Linked DNA regions of Homo sapiens: regions 2, 3 and 4 are each linked to region 1. Evidence: promoter capture Hi-C in 16 types of primary human blood cells and fetal thymus (Javierre and others, 2016). All regions are on one chromosome and are shown on one strand. Each heading gives the region's core, a stretch centred on a gene start or on the middle of the fragment in contact. The rest is flanking DNA. Distances are from core to core; before and after follow the strand shown.

Region 1 (2,707 bases), core at 54-2,553:
CCACCCAATCCACATAGAAACAGTAAGAGAAGAGATTCGTTTATCCTTGCACGATTTAGTCTTCTTGTATCCATCATCCCCTGAAGTTTTCACAGAATCACAGTGTTCTCAAGGACGTGACGGAGTCAGATCAATTAGAAAAATGTCTCCTCTTCCTTCCTTCCACAGCGATGCGTAACCAGCCTCGTTTGAGTCCAAGTCGTGACTACTGGGAGTATGCTGATGATTGACGCTTTCCAGAGAGTTACCCGAACAGGCAGCCCATCTGCCTGAGAGTTTCCCTGAGAGAACCTCCAAGGTGATGTTTATTAGGGGAAGCCCTAGATTTTTCTTGGAGAATCACCGAGAATCACAGAATATTAACATCAGAAGAGATCTCAGAGCTTTCAGAGCTGAGGGCCGGAATAGTTACCTGACTTGTTCAAGGTAACGTCTAAGGAATAGTCAAAGAAAGACTATAATACAGGTCTTGTCTTCAGCCAGCATAAATGCTCGATCAGAGAAACCTGTGACCTCTCTGTTAAGGTCCGTCTCATTCCACACCATTCAGCTTAAACTTGCACTGAGGTGGGCAGATTTTGATTCTTGGTCTAATCAAAGTCCAAGAGGATGTAATATATATATACACAAAAGACGAAAGCTCCCCTTAACCGGCTTGGGATTGGACTTCTCCCTCCTGCCCCATAAACAAGTGCCGCTCTGATGCCAGCGAAGTCCGGCCAGTCCACCCTCACCTCGGCCTCCGGGCGGCACTGGCATTTCTTGGGCACTTAGCAGGTGAGACGCTGCCACACACGCGATCTCGGGCGTCTCTGGCCTCCGCGGGGTGCTCTTGTACCCCCGTCTCCCCTTACCATCCGTGGGCACAGGCCTGGCCCCCCTCGCATCCGCCAAGGCTATCGACCCCGAAACGACGCGGTGCGCAAGTGGCCACGACACCTAGGCACTAAGTCATTTTCCCGAGGTAGCGGTACCCTCTGCTCCAACGAAGCCAATCTCCAGAAAACCTAACAGACTCAAGGTAAGGAGGCTGGGGAAACCCTTCGCTAGCCTTTCGGTGGCCCTAGGCGGCCGACCAGTCCCGCCTCTCTGGGAGACCCCTCTGCGTCACCGTGACGACCCATTCCCACGCAGGTGTCCCTCTTCTCAAGGCGGCCGCCCACCGTCCCCACGCAGCCTCCTTCCTCACCCGCGGCCGCCGCGCCACAGCCTGCTGCACGCGCTCGTTCACCGCCCGCAATGCGCACCCGACTCCCAGCTCGGCCGACATGCTGCCAGCTCTCCACATCCCCCGGGGACCGACGCCGAGCCCCAGGCCCCCGGCAGCCCGTGGCTCACACCATCTTCCGGTTCCGCCCAGCTTGCGCCGTGTGAACCAATCATTGCTCATCATTGAGTCGTCTCACCCAATCAACACCCGTGCAGCGTGGAGGCCCGCCCCCAGGCGGCGGCCATCTTGGGGAGGTCACCCGCGAACCTGGAAATGGAGCCTAGGGGCTGAGGTTTTGCGCGCCTGGTTCCAAGGGCCACTCCCCGTGTGCTCTCCTCTTTCCTGCGCCTCAGCCGCTGCCGTCCCCCCACCCCCAAGGGACTTTTGTGAGGCAGAAACGCATCCTATACTCGGGGGATCCTGTTTCCTTTCAAAACGCCTTTCCAGGCTTGCCCGTTCCCGGCTTTCTGGGCGCGGGGACCAGAATTAGAAGCCACTGGGGCGGGAGCCAGGGCTTTTCTCTGTCAGATGGTTCTTGCGAGGAACCCCTAAGCGATACGAAAGGAAACTCTTCTTTCTTCTTTTCCCTAAAGACATGGCGTGATTCAAACGTATCGTGATTTTTGTCATCTTTCAGACCACTGCTGTCCAAGAGAAATATAACGCCATCCAACTGTGTAATTTGGAAGTTTCTCATAGGCACATAAGCTTAAAAATTTTAATGATATACTTTATTTAATCCAATATATCCAAAGTAAGATTTCAACATGCAATCAATAGAAAAACTAAATGCGATATTTTAATTCTTTTGAAAATCGTATGTGTTTCTGAAACCCGGTGTAGTGTTGACTTGCATATGTCTCAATTCGGGCCATCCCTATTTCGAGAGGTTAGCGGCCACCTGCGGCCAGTGCTGTCTCATCAGGGGACACAGGCAGCATGATTATTACTATTATTATTATTGAGACAGTCTCGCTCTGTCACCCAGGCTGGAGTGCGGTGGCCCGATCTGGGCTCACTGCAACCTCCACCTCCCGGGTTCAAGCGATTCTCCTGCCTCAGCCTCCCCAGTAGCTGGGACTACAGGTGCGAGCCACCGCGCCCAGCCCACAGGCAGCTTTAGATGGTCTAGCAGGAGCTCAGCACATTCAGTTAGATTCTTTTTTTGAGATGGGGTCTCGCTATGTTGCCCAGATTATCTGGGACTCGTGGGCCCAAGCAATCCTCCCACCTCCGCCTCACAGAATAGCTGGGACTACAAACGGGCACCACAACGCCCTGAGTTTGATTCTTGAGTCCCCTTCTGTGGGCAATATGGTTATAAACTTGATGAGGAGCCAGGCCATACAAATAATAATACAGAATGCTACATAGTCAGGTGGTGAAATAGTAGGTGCTACGGGCAAGGAGAAGGAGATCAATTTTGTTAAGGAAAGCACTCTTGGCTGCAATTTCTGTTGAAAGTTTCTCAAACATTAATTCAACTTAATGAAGTGG
Region 2 (2,707 bases), core at 147-2,646, 910 kb after region 1:
TGGACTAAATTGTGCCCTACATCACAAAAAATCTTGAAACCAGCACGAGAAAAATGTGGTTTACATGTGAAACAGCTGACTTCTTATCAGAAAAAATGGAGGTTAGAAGGCAATAAGATGTCATTGAAAAGTGCTGAAATAAACTGCCAACCAAGAATTTTATACCCAGGAAAACTATCTTTAAAAAATGAAGACAAGATACCAGAAAAAAAATAAAATAAAAGGTAGAGGAAGGACACGAGATAGGCCGCCCCTCCATAAAAATAGAATAAACTGGCAAAACTTGTGAGAATTATTTTTTTTTCAGAACTCTGGAAACTAACCAACAGGAGCCTTGAAAACATTTAGTCGAGAGAAATAAATAGATAGCAGTAAGAGATATAAGATTTGTGTTATTTTAATTTACACTAGTTTCATCTCCAGCTCCACAGCTCATCGATAGCTTTCAAAACATAATACTCCATATTCTTGGCACTAGAGGGAGTACAGCAGAAATACAGTTCTTCAAAAGCCTTATTTCCAAAGAAGAGTCATTATTTTGACTTGTCTGGTGGTTCCCTGCATAACCCTACTTGAATGGCTTTTCTTTTTCAGCCTCATTTGCATGTATCTAGTGCTACAAGCCTATCCCCAGGGAGTGTTATCAAATATATTAACGTCACATGTGCCTGAGGCAACAGATAGCAGGGCAAATTGAAGACCAAATGAAAGCATAAAAGGAAAACTGAAGAATAAAATGTCTTCTTACTTATAAGGGACTTTGAAAAACTCTGGAATATTACTGGAAATCTAAATGACAATGAAGATGCCCAGAACTGTGTAAAGCTGTATGCATAAGCAGAAAGGCCTGAGAAGTTCCAAAGCTCTCATCTCTAACTGACCTTGAGGTTTCATACAAGCAGAAAATGAAGGCTAAACACAGTTGTCAACTTTACAGCTGACTATTGAAGGCATGCCCCAACACAAACACAGAATCCTTTGACAAAGACTGAGAAACTTCTTGGTTCCAGGTGTTTAACAAAAATCATTGTCCAATTATAAGCTTACCACTAAGTTGAGTAGAAAATTCAATGGCCACAAATGACAGAGAGATAGACTTTGGGAAAGTCTACTGGAGAATCTGATTTCCATAAATAACACACTATAACCTGTGTAATGTCTAATTTTCAACAAAAAGTTATAAGACTTGGAAAGAAACAAGCAAGATAAAAATACATAGGAAAAAGGCTCTCAATAGACACCATCCTTGAGAGAAGCTCAGATATTGTACTTACTAGTCAAAGACTTTTAAAATCAGCTAATTTAAATATATTTGAAGAGCTTTAAAAACCTATATATAAATAACCAAAAGGAATATGAGAATGATGTCTCACAAAATAGAGAATGTCATTAAATAGTTACAAATTTTTTTAAGTAGAAATCTTGGAGTTCAAAGTACAAGAACTAAAATAAAAACTTTACAAGAGGAACTAAAGATCAGACTTGAGCATGCAAAAAAAAAAAAAAGAATCAGCATACTCAAAGATAGGTGAATGAAGATTATACAGTTTGAGGGACAGAAGAAAAAAGGAATTAAGAAAAATGAAGACAGCCTAAGGGACCGCTGGGACATTATCAAGTGTACCAAAGGATTTAATGAAAGATCCAGGAGAAGAGTAAAGAAAGGAGTAGAGTGAATATTTGAGAAATAATGGCCAATAACTTCTCAAAGTGGTTGAAAAACATTAATCTACACAACTAAAAAGCTTAATAAACTCCTAGTAGGATAAATTTAAAGAGATTGACACATGGAGACCTGTCATAATCAAAAATGTAAGACTCAAAGACAGAGGGTCTTCAAGTCAGCAAGACAGAAGTGACTCATCGTGTAGAAAGGATGACCAATCAAATTGAAAGCTATTTCTAATCTGAAACAATAGAGGCCAGAAAGAAGTAGGATGAAATATTTAAAGCGCTGAATGAGAAACAACTGCCAACAAAGAATTTAATAGTTAGCAAAACTATCCTCCAAAAATAAATGATAAATTAAGACATTTTTAAGATTAACAAGAACTTAGATCTTGTTCACATATGACAAACCCTACAATAAATACTAACGGGATTCCTTGAGTTTGAAATACAAGCACATTAGGCAGTAATTCAAATCCACAGGAAGAAATAAAAATCACACACACACACACCAACCTATACTTAACCGACCCTATAAACCAACTATACTTAACAGACATCCATATAACATTCCATCTAACAACAGAATAATACATGATCTTCCCAAGTATACATTGAATAGTCTCCAGGATAGACCATGTATTAGACAATGGAGCAAGTCTTAAAATACTATAAGAATTTGTCATACAAAGTATGCTTTCCAACTTCAATGGAATTAAATAAGAATACAATAAAAGAGAAAATTAGGAAAATTCACAAATATGTGAAAGTAAAAACAACACATTTCTTAACAATGGGTCAAAAACATACAAAAAAGAAAACAGAAAACACAGGGAAATTATAAAGTATTTTAAATTAATGAAAATAAAAACATAACACATTAAAAATACACCATGCTTCTAAAGGTGCTTAGAGGGAAATTTTTAGATATAAATGCCTACTTATTTATTTATTTATTTTTTGAGAGAAGTCTTGCTCTGTCAACCAGCTTGGAATGCAGTAGCATGATCTTGGCTCACTGCAGCCTCTGTCTCCCAGG
Region 3 (2,707 bases), core at 208-2,707, 650 kb before region 1:
ACATACCCCACTCCCTTAGCCTTTATCCTGCCCTCCTCCCTTCCCAAGTAAATGAGTCTCAACGTGTTCTTTAAAGCGGACGCAACAGAGAAAGACTTGTCAGACCTGATCTCAGAAATGGAGATGATGAAGATGATCGGGAAGCATAAGAATATCATCAACCTGCTGGGGGCCTGCACGCAGGATGGTGGGTGCCGGCCAGACTGGCTTTCCCTGCCCAGCGGGGAGAAGATCTGAGCTGGGGTATCAGTCCCAAGGCCTCTCTCAGCCACAGCTAGGGAAGGGGGTTAAGAGAGGCTGCTTTGGCAGAGGTTTAAAATGTGTTATCTCGGGATCTGGGCTCCGCTCATTGGTGTTCATTCAGGAATACAGATACCTAGATTCACACACGTGGTGTGTTAACAGAGGCAGCTGAGTAATTATGGTCTAAGAGCGCTCAGGCTGGGTGCAGTGGCTCATGCCTGTAATCCCAGCAATTTGGGAGGCCGAGGCAGGAAGATCACTTGAGATCAGGAGTTCGAGACCAGTCTGGTCAAAATGGTGAAACCCCATCTCTACTAAAAAATACAAAAGTTAGCCAGGCATGGTCACGCATGCCTATAATCCCAGCTACTCAGGAGGCTGACGCATAAGACTTGCTTGAACCCGGGAGGTGGAGGTTGCAGTGAGCCAAGATCACGCCATTGTACTCCAGCTTGGGAGATACTCCCGCTGTCTCAAAAATAAAATAAATAAATAGGCCAGGCACAGTGGCTCACGCCTGTAATCCCAGCACCTTGGGAGGGTGAGGCGGGTGGATCACTTGAGGTCAGGAGTTGGAGACCAGCCTGGCCAACAGGTGAAACCCCATCTCTACTAAAAATACAAAAAGTAGCCGGGCGTGGTGGCGCATGCCTGTAATTCCAGCTACTCGGGAGGCTGTGGCAGGAGAATCGTTTGAACACGGGAGGCGGAGGTTGCGGTTAGCCGAGATCGCGCCATTGCACTCCAGCTTGGGCAACGAGCAAAACTCCATCTCAAAAAAAAAAAAAAAAAAAAAAAAAATTAGCCAGGCATTGTTCATGCCTGTAATCCCAGCTGCTTGGGAGGCTGAGGCAGGAGAATCACTTGAATCCAGAAGGCAGAGGTTGCAGTGAGCCGAAATTGCGCCACTGCACTCCAGCCTGGGCAACAGAGTGAGACTCCATCTCAAAATAAACAGACAAACTGGGGCTCTTACCCCAATGTTGCTCGGGAATTTTCTGGACTATGCTGGGAGTAATTATTTCTCTGATTTTTTTTGGGTAGTAGAATGGATTTCCCAGGTCCCCTAAGAGGAGGCAGGAGATGGGAGGTTGGCCGGGGTGTGCTGCTGGGGGTGGGGTTTCTTTGAGGTGAAGCCAAACCTGCTCACCTGCTGCTGGCCCCATGGCCTCTTCTCCTGTGCCTGCAGGTCCCTTGTATGTCATCGTGGAGTATGCCTCCAAGGGCAACCTGCGGGAGTACCTGCAGGCCCGGAGGCCCCCAGGGCTGGAATACTGCTACAACCCCAGCCACAACCCAGAGGAGCAGCTCTCCTCCAAGGACCTGGTGTCCTGCGCCTACCAGGTGGCCCGAGGCATGGAGTATCTGGCCTCCAAGAAGGTGTGGAACCTGAAGGCTCCCCTGGGTAATGCCAGGGTGGGAACAGAGCCCCCCTAGTCTTCCAGCCTGTGACTTATCATCTTGTGGTGGCGTTGTGGATGCACTGAGCACTGGCCCTGTGTGCCCTGTGTGTTGTCTTAGGCTCTCTGGGAACTGCAGAGTCAGGAGCACCAGTGTAGCCAGGTGGCCTTGGGGTCAGACTGATGCAGGGTCCGATCTGTGCACTGCCACTTTCTGCGTAGCCTCAGGCAGCTACTTAGCATCTTAAAATTCTTCAAATACAAAATAATAATAATATCAGCTGGGTGCAGTGGCCAAGGCGGGAGGATTGCTTGAGCTCAGGAGTGTGAGACCAGGTTGGGCAATATATTGAAACCCCGTCTTTAAAAAAAAAAAAAAAATTAAAAAATTAGCTGGGTGTGGTAGTGCGTGCCGATAGTCCCAGCTACTCGGGAGGCTGAGGTGGGAGGCTAGCTTGAGCCCAAGAGTTTGAGGCTGCACTGAGCCATGATCACACCACTGCACCCCAGCCGGGGCGACAGAGCAAGGCCCTGTCTCAAAAGAAAATAAAGTATAACAATACCTGTTGTAGAATTGTTATGAAGATAAAATGAAACTGTCTGTGAGTGTTGAGTGCAGTGTTTGGTGTGTAAGGGCTGGCCTGGTTTGAGCCCAGCCCCATGTGGACTTGCTGTGCTGGGAGGCAGGACCTAGGAGCATGCATCGCTGCAGACGCAGCAGAGGCATAAGGGGCCAGTCTTTGGGGAAGGAAGGGAGGAGCGCTTGCTGTGATGAGAAGCCTGGAGCTGGCAGAGAATGTTAGAAGAGGGAAAGCAAAGGTTCGGGGGGCAGAGCAGTGTGGCAGAAGTTCTATGAGACAAGTCGGCTAGTTGCATGGGTGGCGGCCGCCCAGAGCCTTCCAGCTCCCTCACCTCCCCGCCTCCCGCTCTCCCTTCCTCCTTCCTCAGTGCATACACCGAGACCTGGCAGCCAGGAATGTCCTGGTGACAGAGGACAATGTGATGAAGATAGCAGACTTTGGCCTCGCACGGGACATTCACCACATCGACTACTATAAAAAGAC
Region 4 (2,707 bases), core at 80-2,579, 610 kb before region 1:
TGATTTAGAAACACTTTATTTTAGAAAACATCTGTGGAAAGTATGTTTTACCTATACAGTTAACTGTAGCAAACTTATCACCTTATAGAAAATATGGTTTTCTTTTAAGAGAGGTTTGCTTTGTTCTAATTGACCTTCCCCCCGAAAGTTGTTCTTTTGTTATGTTCGCTTAAGCCGTTTAACAAAACATTTTTTAAAAACTGGGTGGGCTGGCTGGGCGTGGTGGCTCACACCTGTAATCCCAGCACTTTGGGAGGCCGAGGTGGGTGGATCACTTGAGGTCAGGAGTTTGAGACCAGCCTGGTCAACATGGTGAAACCCCATGTCTACTAAAAATACAAAAATTAGCCAGTGTTGTGGTGCACGCGTGTAGTCCCAGCTACTCAGGAGGCTGAGGCAGGAGAGTCGCTTGAACCCAGAAGGCAGAGGTTGCAGTGAGCTGAGATCGTGCCACTGCACTCCAGCCTGGGCAACAGAGCGAGACTCTGTCTCAAAAACAAAAACAAAAACAAAAACAAAAAACAAAACTGGGAGGGCAGTGAAGTATAGGGCAAGAGTCAAGGAGATCTGAGTTCCTATCCCCACTTCACTTTACCACTGAAGATCAGTGTTCTTATCTCTAAAAGTGCAAATGAAAATTATTCTTGGAGTTACAGGGATTCAAATTAGAAGTACTAGAGTGTGCGTAGAACTGTACCAGACACATAGTTGATAATGAATAACTTTTTTAATAGAAGAAAAATAGTGTACACAAAATGAACTAGTCTTTAGTCACATGTTTAATGGAAGAAGAACTGAACTCAATTGGCTAAACTCACTTTCATAGAAGTTAAAAGTTGAACATCAACTAATACCTGAAGAGAATCTTTGCCTAGGTTATATGAGTTTTTCTTAATTGTTGAGAGAATTCATGCTGGTTCAAGTTTGAACATGAAGTTAACTTTCCAGTCCAATTTTACTTCCACTGTTTTATTACAACTCATGATGGCTAAAGCTTCACTAAAGCTTGGTGTTCTGATTAAACAAACAGGTGATGTGAAATTTGGATATATAGTATGAAATTCTGAATTTTCTAACTTTTATTACTTATTTTGAAAACTACATGTTGAATACTAAAATACTACATGTTGAACCTAAAATACTAAAGCGATAAACAAAAAAAACAAAACCCAAACTGGTCTTTATAGAAAAGATAAACTTAGTAAATTATTATTTAGATATAATAAATTGCTTAGTGCCTTAAAAACTACATATCATCTTTGGCATACATTCTCTTTTGCCTTTTTTGGGGGAATGGAGGATACAAGCTAAAAGAAAGTAAATTTGAATGCTTGCAAAATTTTAAGAACCAATCTCAAACCATTTTACCATAATTTAAAAGTTTGTCCAGGAAATAGGTAAGAAAATATGTGGATGAACTTGTTAGTTTACTAGATTTCATAGTGAATGGAACAAGATGACTGATGAAAGTTGTTTGTAGTAATTTTCATTGTGAGCAACTACCCTTGCTGTAAAGGATTGGAAAATAATGTAATTTCCTTCAAGTGGTAATACCATGTCTGTTGTTGCTGGGTGTGGTCAGCAACAAAGCGAAGACAGTTGAGGTTAAACTAGATAGATAAGGGAAACAGGGTGTTTTACTAGTAAGCTTTGTATTGGTAAAAGGCAGTTCAATAGTAATGTGGTTTAGTCAGGAAAAAAATATGAACTACAAAGCCACCTAAAATGTTGTATAACTTAATGGAATCATAGTCAAGTGAAAACTGTATGATTGAATTTAGTGACAGGATTTATGGTTAAATGAAACACTTTTTTGTTGTTGTTGTTTTCTTTTTTGTATTTTGTTAACTAAGTTCTACTTCACGCAGGTTACTTCCTAATTCAGGATATTTTAATGTCTTTAATCATCATCCTTCTCTAAACATCTTTCTCTAAATTTTTAGTGGAAAATTTAAAGTGAACACATTTCAGAAAATATTTGAGGTGACAACGCTAAAGTTAAACAGATTATGGAGTAGCACAGTTATTCTTTACAGATAATTTGCTGCCTGGTGCAGTGGCTCACACCTGTAATCCCAACACTTTGGGAGGCCAAGGCGAGTGGATCACCTGAGGTCAGGAGTTCGAGACCGGCCTGACTAACATGGTGTAACCCCCTTTAGCTGGGTGTGATGGTGCATGCCTGTAATCCCAGCTACTTGGGAAGCTGAGGCAGGAGAATCACTTGAACCCTGGAGGCAGAGGTTGCAGTGAGCCGAGATTGTGCCAGGGCACTCCAACCTGGGCAACAAGAGCAAATCTCTGTCTCAAAAAAAAAAGATATTTTGCTTTATTAATAGTTTAAACTCAGAAAAGTTTAAAAAAAGTTAAGAGAAAACATACAACTTCTCTAACACACCTTGATTCCTTACTAGGATTTTGTAAAGAGAATCGTGGCCATGCTGATTTTACTCCCTAAAATCCTATCTATGTCACTAACTGTATTGGTTGTGAATTTCATATAATTGTTTGATATTACAAATAATGGTCATCTTAAATAATGTTAAGGTGATAGATGAGATTTAAAGTTAGTTTTTTATTTATTTATTTTTTTGAGACAGAGTCTCACTCTGTCACCCAGGCTGGAGTGCAGTGGCACAATCTCAGCTCACCGCAACCTCCACCTCCCGGGTTCAAGTGATTCTCCTGCCTCAGCCTCCCTAGTAGC

The links. The method cuts DNA at HindIII sites, captures the fragments that hold promoters and counts their contacts. A CHiCAGO score of 5 or more calls a contact.
Region 2: a contact is called between a fragment that was not itself captured here and the fragment with the promoter of PLPBP in region 1, in 2 of 17 cell types (endothelial precursors and M1 macrophages). The highest score is 5.9, in endothelial precursors.
Region 3: a fragment that was not itself captured here is called in contact with the fragment with the promoter of PLPBP in region 1 in 4 of 17 cell types (naive CD4 T cells, activated CD4 T cells, neutrophils and 1 more); the score reaches 7.8 in naive CD4 T cells.
Region 4: a contact is called between a fragment that was not itself captured here and the fragment with the promoter of PLPBP in region 1, in 1 of 17 cell types (total CD8 T cells). The highest score is 5.8, in total CD8 T cells.

What each region holds. Positions count from the first base shown.
Region 1 is chr8:37,761,241-37,763,947 of GRCh38, reverse strand. PLPBP (pyridoxal phosphate binding protein) reads right to left here and starts at 1,303. Exons shown (of 8, transcript NM_007198.4): 1 at 1,190-1,303. The coding sequence starts at 1,288. LOC124901934 (a long non-coding RNA gene) reads left to right here and starts at 684. Exons shown (of 2, transcript XR_007060889.1): 1 at 684-1,021; 2 at 1,135-2,707. RefSeq lists enhancers at 875-934, 1,243-1,537, 1,115-1,574, 1,675-1,754 and a silencer at 1,295-1,615. The HindIII fragment of the contact is 3,991 bases long and covers 1-1,920 here.
Region 2 is chr8:36,853,272-36,855,978 of GRCh38, reverse strand. The region is part of intron 18 of KCNU1 (potassium calcium-activated channel subfamily U member 1); the gene reads right to left. Among named protein-coding and RNA genes, the nearest start is that of KCNU1, 70 kb to the right of the region's middle. The HindIII fragment of the contact is 703 bases long and covers 1,045-1,747 here.
Region 3 is chr8:38,414,786-38,417,492 of GRCh38, reverse strand. FGFR1 (fibroblast growth factor receptor 1) reads left to right here. Exons shown (of 18, transcript NM_023110.3): 12 at 77-187; 13 at 1,433-1,623; 14 at 2,592-2,707. Among named protein-coding and RNA genes, the nearest start is that of LETM2, 30 kb to the right of the region's middle. RefSeq lists enhancers at 239-904, 1,345-2,115. The HindIII fragment of the contact is 8,773 bases long and covers 1-2,707 here.
Region 4 is chr8:38,367,598-38,370,304 of GRCh38, reverse strand. All of the region lies in intron 1 of NSD3 (nuclear receptor binding SET domain protein 3), which reads left to right. Among named protein-coding and RNA genes, the nearest start is that of NSD3, 13 kb to the left of the region's middle. The HindIII fragment of the contact is 643 bases long and covers 1,008-1,650 here.